3 separate regions of the Homo sapiens genome follow, and all the other regions are linked to region 1. The links are contacts of gene promoters, found by promoter capture Hi-C in human tissues and cell types (Jung and others, 2019). All regions are on one chromosome and are shown on one strand. The core of a region is centred on a gene start or on the middle of the fragment in contact, and the rest is flanking DNA. Distances in the headings are between cores, read along the strand shown. Region 1 holds the start of RIMS4 (regulating synaptic membrane exocytosis 4). Region 2 has its middle 34 kb from the start of RIMS4. Region 3 overlaps RIMS4 (regulating synaptic membrane exocytosis 4).

Evidence for each region. Contacts are between HindIII fragments. The study calls those that stand out against the background at their distance.
Region 2: a fragment that was not itself captured here is called in contact with the fragment with the promoter of RIMS4 in region 1 in 1 of the 25 tissues and cell types used here (stomach).
Region 3: a contact is called between a fragment that was not itself captured here and the fragment with the promoter of RIMS4 in region 1, in 1 of the 25 tissues and cell types used here (spleen).

What each region holds. Positions count from the first base shown.
Region 1 is chr20:44,809,181-44,811,880 of GRCh38, reverse strand. It overlaps RIMS4 (regulating synaptic membrane exocytosis 4), which reads left to right and starts at 1,335. Exons shown (of 6, transcript NM_182970.4): 1 at 1,335-1,706. The coding sequence starts at 1,610. The HindIII fragment of the contact is 17,434 bases long and covers 1-2,700 here.
Region 2 is chr20:44,842,763-44,845,462 of GRCh38, reverse strand. No RefSeq gene overlaps it. Among named protein-coding and RNA genes, the nearest start is that of RIMS4, 34 kb to the right of the region's middle. The HindIII fragment of the contact is 4,463 bases long and covers 1-2,700 here.
Region 3 is chr20:44,758,834-44,761,533 of GRCh38, reverse strand. All of the region lies in intron 2 of RIMS4 (regulating synaptic membrane exocytosis 4), which reads left to right. Among named protein-coding and RNA genes, the nearest start is that of KCNK15-AS1, 14 kb to the right of the region's middle. The HindIII fragment of the contact is 8,944 bases long and covers 1-2,700 here.

The DNA.
Region 1 (2,700 bases), core at 86-2,585:
CAAAATGGAAGGCTCCTGTCCCCATTGTACAGATGAGGAACAGGACCCATGGGATAAAGAGTTTTGCCATAGGCCACCCAGAAAGACAGCACCACAGCTGAGATTCAAACTCTGGGCTGTCTCTTTCTGAGGCCTGAACTGTTTCCATGTCGCCAGATGGCTTCATAAAGAGGTGTGCGAGCAGCTGAGAAGGTTGTTTGACATCTGGGGCCTGATTAGGTGGGCAGGGACCCTCACGTCCCAGGTCACATGCAGGGAATGGAACACGGGTTTCCGATTCGCTCGTCTCTGTCCTGGGGCTGTGAGTGTCTGAGCCCGTGTGTGTCTGAGGACTGCGGGTCGCCGAGGGTGATAATGGGAGAGTCTGTGAGTGTGAGCCTGCCAAGTGTGTCTCAGTGTACCTGAGTCTGAGGGTGTCAGTCAATCCGTCGGGATGCACCCACACTGGGAGGGATGGAGTCTGTGTGGCTGTGTCTTGGCGTGTGTGTGCTACTCTAGTGTGTCTGAGGGTGAAGGTGTGTGCATCTGGCCGTGTCAGTCAGAGTGTTTGACAGTGCTGAGATGATCACAGGGGGAGGCGACACAGAGTGTGTGCTGGGTCTGGGCTTGTGTGTTCATCTGAGTGTATGAATGTGTGTATGAATTCTGGGGTGTCTTTGGTAAGTGTGAATGCATGAGACTGTGTATGCCTACCTGAACTTCGTGGGGTTTTGTGGCATCTGAGAGTCTCCCCGTGAGGGAGGCCGGGCACCAGGGATGTCCTGCCTACCTCCCTGAGTGTGTTTGCAGGTCTCTGCGTGAGTCTGCGTGTGTCCGTGGACGTGTCTGTCCCCGCATCTGTGAGGGGGTGGGTCTGTGGGTGTATCTGTCCGGGTGTCTGCGGGGCATGTTGCAGAGTGAATGTGTAGGTGTGGGTGCCTGTTTGAGCTTCTCTGTGGGTGCAGGTGTGAAGCCGAGGGTCTCTGTGTGGGAGGCCGAGTGCCGACCCGCCTGGGCGGGACCCTTTGAGCGCATCCCCTCCGAGCGCGCCAGTGTCTCTGGGAGAGGCCTGTCTGGGTGAGGGACTGGACGCCGGCCTCTCCGCAAGTCGGCCGGCTGAGGGTGGGGGCCGAGGCGGGGTCGGGAACAGCCCTCGGACCAGGGCCCAGACAACCTCGCCCGGCGCCTGCCTCCCCGCGCGCACCTGCCGGGCCCGGGGGCTGCTAGAAGAGGCCGCAGCCCGCGCCCTCCGGGCTCCCACGCCCCGCAGCGGCGCCCCCTCCCCCGGCGGCACGGATTGGCTGCGGCGCCGCTCCAAGCCCGCCTCGCGCTGCCGGCGGGGGGCGCCGCGGACCAGAGCGCGCTGCGCCGCCACCGCCGCCGCCACCGCCGCCGCCGCCGCCGCCGCCAGCAGCACAGCGCGCCTCGGGCTCCGCGCGCCGCCAGCTCCTGGCCCGCCCGCCGGCCCCGCCGCGCCCGCCAGCCCCGCAGCGGAGCCTCGGCCCGGCCCCGGGCCGCCGCCACCACGCCGCGCGCCGTACTCCGCGTCAAGAATGGGGCGGCCAAGCTGCCCAAGCCGCCCGCCGCCGCCGCCGCCGCCGCGGCCGAGGCGCCCGGCGCCGGCGCGGGCATGGAGCGCTCGCAGAGCCGCCTCAGTCTGTCCGCCTCCTTCGAGGCGCTCGCCATCTACTTCCCGTGCATGAACTCCTTCGACGACGAGGACGCAGGTAAGCGCGCGGCCCGCCCCCCAGACCCCCGGGGTGTCCCGGGATCCAGGTCCGGTAGCCCCCTCCCCGACCCGTGCGCCCTCCTCCCCACCCCCAATCCCCTGGGAAGGCGCCCCCAGGGTCTCCTTCCGCACCCACGGGACCCCAGGGTCTCCAGGATGCGCTACCTTCTGGCCTTCTCCCCCAGGGACCCCGAGATTGTCTGCATTCACCTTTCCCGCAGGTGGGCCCTTTGGGTCGCCAGGACCCATCTCCCTCCTCACCCGCGCCTATTGGAGGCCCCTTGCCTCGTCCCTGGAGCCGACCTGCCACCCTCCCTGAGTCTCCTGAATGTGCCCACTCTTCAAGCCCTGGGCTTTGGCCGTCCCACCCCTGGGGCTCCGACGCGCCCCCCGCCATTGGAGGTGGCGCGCAGACCTTACCTCTCCATCTTTGTCTTGGCCACATCCAGAGGATCCCTGCCCAAGACCCCTGCCCGGCGCCCCAGGCCTTGAGCGCCCCCATTTATCTCTCCTCTCCTTCCCTCATGGGCTGGGGCTCCAGACTCCTGCTTCTTATACGCCTGGGGCAGACGGAGGGGAACCGGCCAGGTGACGGCCTTTCCTCCCCTCTCTTCCCGGAGAGAGGTGTAGGGCGGCGCCAACTCTACACTTGTCCGCCCGCTGGTGTGTGCCCCTGACCTCAGGTGCTCTTGTCCCTGGAGTCGCCTTTCTTGGTGGGCTGAAGCCGGCCACCAGCCAGCGGCTTGAACCTCCTCCTCCCAGGCCTGCGCACAACCTCAGCCAGAGCGAGGGGTGGGGAGCTGTAGGGAAACCTACTCTTTAGGGCCCTGGGACCCGGCAGAAGGAACATGAGAGCTCCGGATTTGGTTCTGGGGTGAGGAAGGGAATCCACCAACAGGTGGGGTAGCTAGAGGGCTTGGGTGAGAGTTCCCCAAAGAATGCCAGATTGGGAATCGGAATCAGGTTCCAGTCTTCATTCTCTACTTCTTAGC
Region 2 (2,700 bases), core at 85-2,584, 34 kb before region 1:
TTAAAAGTTTCATGACCAGCCAAGGCTAGAAACTTGGAGAATCTCTTGCTGGTCCAGTCCTTCATATCTCCGAAAGCCTTTTTCAATTGAAATGCCAAGAGTCCCAGTATCTAATGTAGATACATTAATAACATTTGCTTATTCTCAAGTCCATTGATGAGAATATTGAGATTGGATTAAGTTATTATTGATTTCAGACTAAAAAATTATGGAGTGCCTGCTGGATGCCAGACCCTGGGAATGCAGCAGTGTACAAAACAGACACAGCCCCTGCTCTCATGAAGCATTTGTTCTAGCACAAAAAATTTACATAATTATGACAAGCAGTAAGAGAAGAGACAAGAGAATGGGGGTTGGGGCATGAGAGCTACTATTTTGGATAGGGTGGTCAGGGTATCGCTGAGTAGCTGACATTTGAGAAGAGGTCTGAAGGAAATGAGAGTAGTCCAGTACTGTGGGATACCTAAGGGAAGAGCTGTTGATTTTAGCAAAAGTATTTGAAATGCTCTTGTGGTTTGTTTTTTGTTTGTGTGTGTGTTTTTTGAGATGGAGTCTCGCTCTTTTGCCAGGCTGGGGTGCAATAGCGTGATCTTGGCTCACCGCAACATCTGCCTCCTGGGTTCAAGCGATTCTCCTGCCTCAGCCTCCCGAGTAGCTGGGATTACAGACACCTGCCATCATGCCTGGCTAATTTTGTATTTTTATTAGATATGGCGTTTCTCCATGTTGGTCAAGCTGGCCTCAAATTCCCCACCTCAGGTGACCCACCCACCTTGGCCTCCCAAATTGCTGAGATTATAGGCGTGAGCCACTGCGCCCAGCTGAAATGCTCTTGGTTTAAGGATGACAATCTCACTCTCACAGTAGCCAATGTCTTCCTTTCATTGTGGGTACCTCTGTCTCTCTCTCTCTCTCTCTCTGTTTTTGTTTTTTTTGTTTTTGTTTTTGTTGTTTTTTTGTTTTTTGAGACAAGGTCTTGCTCAGTTACCCAGGCTGGAGTGCAGTGCTGCAATTATAGTTCACTGCAGGCTTGACCTCCCAGGCTCAAGTAATCCTCCCACCCCAGCCTCCTGAGTAGCTGGGACTACAAGCGCACATCACCACGCCTGGCTATTTTTTAAAGTTTTCTGTGGAGACAGGTCTACCTATGTTGCCCAGGCTGGTCTCAAGCTCTAGAGTTCAAGTGATCCTCCCATCTTAGCCTCCCACAGTGCTGGGATTACAGGTGTGAGCCACCGTGCCTGGCTTTGGGTACATCTCTTATCTGAGTCCGACTAACCTGGTTCCTCTGCTTTCCACTACCTGTGTGAACTTTGGGCAAGCCACATCATCCCTGAGAGTCTTCATGTCTTCAACTGTAAACTGCACATAGCAGTCATAACCATACCTACCTCACAGTAGGGTTGCTGAGAAGGGAAAACGAGCTACGGAAGTGTAGTGCAATGATTAACAATGAGAGTGCTTGGGTCAGCACTCATTCAAAGTGCTGGGGTCAGCCTGCTTTTGAAGTCTGGCTCTACCGTTTTCTAGCCATATAACCTGTGGCAAATTATTTAGCCTCTCTGGGTCTTTGGCTTGTGTGGTAGGCACAATCATGGCCTCCCAAAAATGCCCATGTCCTAAAACCAAACCTATGAATATGTTAGGTTACATGGCAAAGGGAATTGAGGCTGCAGATGGAATTAAGACTGCTAATCTGCCGGGCGTGGTGGCTCACTCCTGTAATCCCAGTGCCTTGGGAGGTTAAGGCAGGAGGATCGCTTGAGCCCAGGAGTTCCAGACCAGCCTGGGAAACATGGTGAAAGCCCATCTCTACCAAAAAAAAAAAAAAAAAAAGTGGTGCCCACTTGTAGTCCCAGCTACTTGGGAGGCTGAGGTAGAAGGCTTGCTTGAGTCCTACAGGCGGATGGAGGTTGCAGTGAGCCAAGATCACGCCATTGTACCCCACCCTGGATGACAGAGCCAAACCCTGTCTCAAAAAACAAAAACAAAAACAAAACCCTCCTAATTGCCTGACTTTAAGGCAGGGAGAGTATTCTGTGTTACTCTCTGGGTGGACCCAATGTAATCACGAAGGTCTTTAAAAGTGGAAGAGGGAGGCAGGAGAGGACATTCAGAGGGAAGAAGATGCGACTACAGAAGAACAGTTGGAGTGATAAGAAAGACTTGATCATTGTTGCTGGGTAGATGAACAAGGTCACTAGCCAAGGAATGCAGGTAGTCCCGGGAAGGAACGCAGCCCAAGGTGCCCATGTAGACTTGTAACCAGCAGAACTGTAAGATGACACATTTGCATTGTTTAAGCCACTAAGTTTGTGGCAATTTGTTGTAGCAGCAATAGGAAACTAACATGGCTTGTCAATTGAAAATGGGCAAAATGATAGTATTGGTGATAGCTGTTGTGAAACCTCAGTTCTTATCTTCTTAGTTTAAAATAATTTAACCAGCCGGGTGCAGTGGCTCACACGGGAGGCCGAGGCAGGTGGATCACTTGAGGTCAGGAGTTTGAGATCAGCCTGGCCAACACAGTGAAACCCTGTCTCTACTAAAAATACAAAAACAGCTGGGCATGGTGGCCTGAAATCCCAGCTACTTGGGAGGCTGAGGCAGGAGAACTGCTTGAACCCAGGAGACAGAGGTTGCAGTGAGCCAAGATCGCACCACTGCACTCCAGCCTGGATGACAGAGCGAGACTCCATC
Region 3 (2,700 bases), core at 85-2,584, 50 kb after region 1:
CCTGCAGACTCCCAGTTTGTCACTGGGTGGGGGCTGCTTCTGAGGCATGAACCCTCAGGTGCTTCCAGCCTGCCCTGTGCCACAGGCTGAATTTGCTTCCCCAGCAAAATTCAGAATTCTCACAGCCAGAAAATAAGCCCTCAGACCTAGTGGCAGGTGTGAGAGCAGGTAGCTTCAAAGTATAGAGGTGAGTGCTGAGGGATAGGGTGGGGCCATGCAGTACCTGTGTCATTTGGGTAGGTTTCTTAACTCTCCGGCTCATCTATAAAATGGGCCCAGTAACAGTATTGACCTCATGGGGTTGTTGTGAGGCTGAAATGAATTAATAAGTATAGAGCACTTTGACATTTGTGGCATTTAGTGAGCACTGGGAGTTCGCTGTTGCTAATCTCTGTATCAAGTCCCGCTGTGTCCTCTGTTTGCTGGAAACTTAGACCCACTTGGTTCAGGATTTTCCCAAATGTTATGCCTGTGTCCTGGGGAAGTTTATGTGGAGAGAATCTGTGTAAATTTCTAGAACAGGCCCAGGGTAACTATCAAAGTATTTAATAAGAAGCACAAGTCACAGCTACTGATCACACTATTTTGTATTGCCGCCCACATCCCCCCCTGCCCACATTAATTCTCTACTTATTTATTACTAAGATTTCTATCATTTACCACCTTCTAACATACTGTAATGTTTATGATATTAATTGTGTGTAATATGTCACTAGAATCTAAGCACCTGAAGGGCAGAAATCACTGTTCACTAACATATTCCAAGTGTCCAGAATAGTGCCTGGACACAATAGAGTGCATAGTATGTGCTCAGTAAACATTTGTTGGTTGAATGAATGGATCAAATGGACGCCGGCCATAACACCTGGTGTACCAGCTGAATGTCAGTGAGGGCTCGTGTCCAGTAGCATTGGCTGCTATTATTGTGGTGCTCAGACACTGGGGACAGAGTGTGTGGTCTGCAATCATCATCCATCATCCTGGTGTCTCCTGGAACGTGATCTTACTGTCTGCTCCTTGGTCATTGTTTCTCATTGGTCTCAGCTACTTCTCTTTGCCCAGACCACCAGGCCTCTATGGATCTGCCCTTCTCTCCAGTGCACCTGGATCATATGTTCCTCTCTAGGGTATGGAGGGATGTACAGAGAGCCTCAGAGATCTCCCAGGGGGTTACTTGACAAGAAGCCCAAGTAGCCATTTCTGTAAAGTGTTCTGCCCTTTTCTTAGCTCCACCCAATAAGAAGAGTAAGTGCAAGTCTCCTCTGCTTTCAGATCCCCCCAGCCTATCTGGAGTTTTCTGTCATCCCCCAGCACTCACCAGCTGCAGACTACAGACCGTCCTCAAGGATCCTGCAGCATCTCAGCTCTGTTCCCTCCTTGCCTGACTTCCTCTGCTCTCCCAGGCTGAGGGTTTGTCTGTTTCGGGGCAGGATAGCCTAGTTTTGTACCTATTCTTTCAAGTCTGTTTCTTAGATTTGGAACTGAAAAGTCAAGAGCCCAAGTCTCTTGCTCTCTACCTCCTGCTGGGTCATTCCTTCTCTGAGGCAGCCAACATAGGACACCCTGGCTACTGTCTGAATGGGGAAAGCAAGCCAGGGGTAGTAGGAAATCAGGAAAAGGGAAAGCACTCAGGCTGAATATTCTGCCATTAACTCTGCAGATAACTTAAGTAAAAACAGAACACTGGGGGACTTCAAATGGTTCAGGGAAGAATCGGGCAGCCAAGACTGGGTAGCTAGTAGAGTTTATGGGTTTTGCCTGAGGGCAGGCCATTTATATGGCTCAGTTCTTGTGACTTTTAGTCTCCAGGATTCTCTTTTTTATTTCCCAGAGAGAGGTTTTGATTGGCCTGGCTTGGGTTAAGCCTCTGACTCTGTATGCCTCATCTCTGGCCAGGGAATAGGGTCACCCTTTTGCTGGGCAAATGTGTTTCTTATTTAAAAGATGGTGATAAAGATCAAAAGCCAACCTCTTGGGCTAGGCGTGGTGGCTCACCCCTGTAATCCCAGCACTTTGGGAGGTCGAGGTGGGTGGATCACGTGAGGCCAGGGGTTGGAGACCAGCCTGGCCAATGTGATGAAACTCTGTCTCTACTAAAAAACACAAAAATTGGCCGGGCGTGGTGGTACACGTCTGTATTCCCAGCTACTTGGGAGGCTGAGGCATGAGAATTGCTTAAACGCTTAAACCCAGGAGTTCGAAGCTGCAATGAGCCAAGACCGTGCCACTGCACTCCAGACTGGGCAACAGAGGGAAACTCTGTCTCAAAAAAAAAACAAAAACCAGAACAACAACAAAAAAAACCTCCTGTGGTTGTGGTGAGGATCAGATGAGAAAATGGGTTGCAAGTGCTTTGGTGCTCAGGATAACAGAGGCACATCAGGCATGGTACTTAGTGCCTCATCGCACTTAATACAACAGACCTAGGAGATGGGAACATTATTATTCCCATTTCACAGATGGGAAAGAGATACTTAGAGAAGTGAAGGGAGTGGGGAGAACTGACTAAAGCTGTCTTAGGCAAAATAATAAAATTATCTTTGTTGTTGCTGTTGATATTGACTTAACGTAACCAAAAGATGAAGTAGCTTGCTTCAGGCAGAGCTTGATCCAGGAGCTCACACAATGCTGTCATTTTGATGGTTTCATTCTCGGGATCCAGATGGTAGCTACATAGCACCAGAAGCTCCAGTCCTGCAT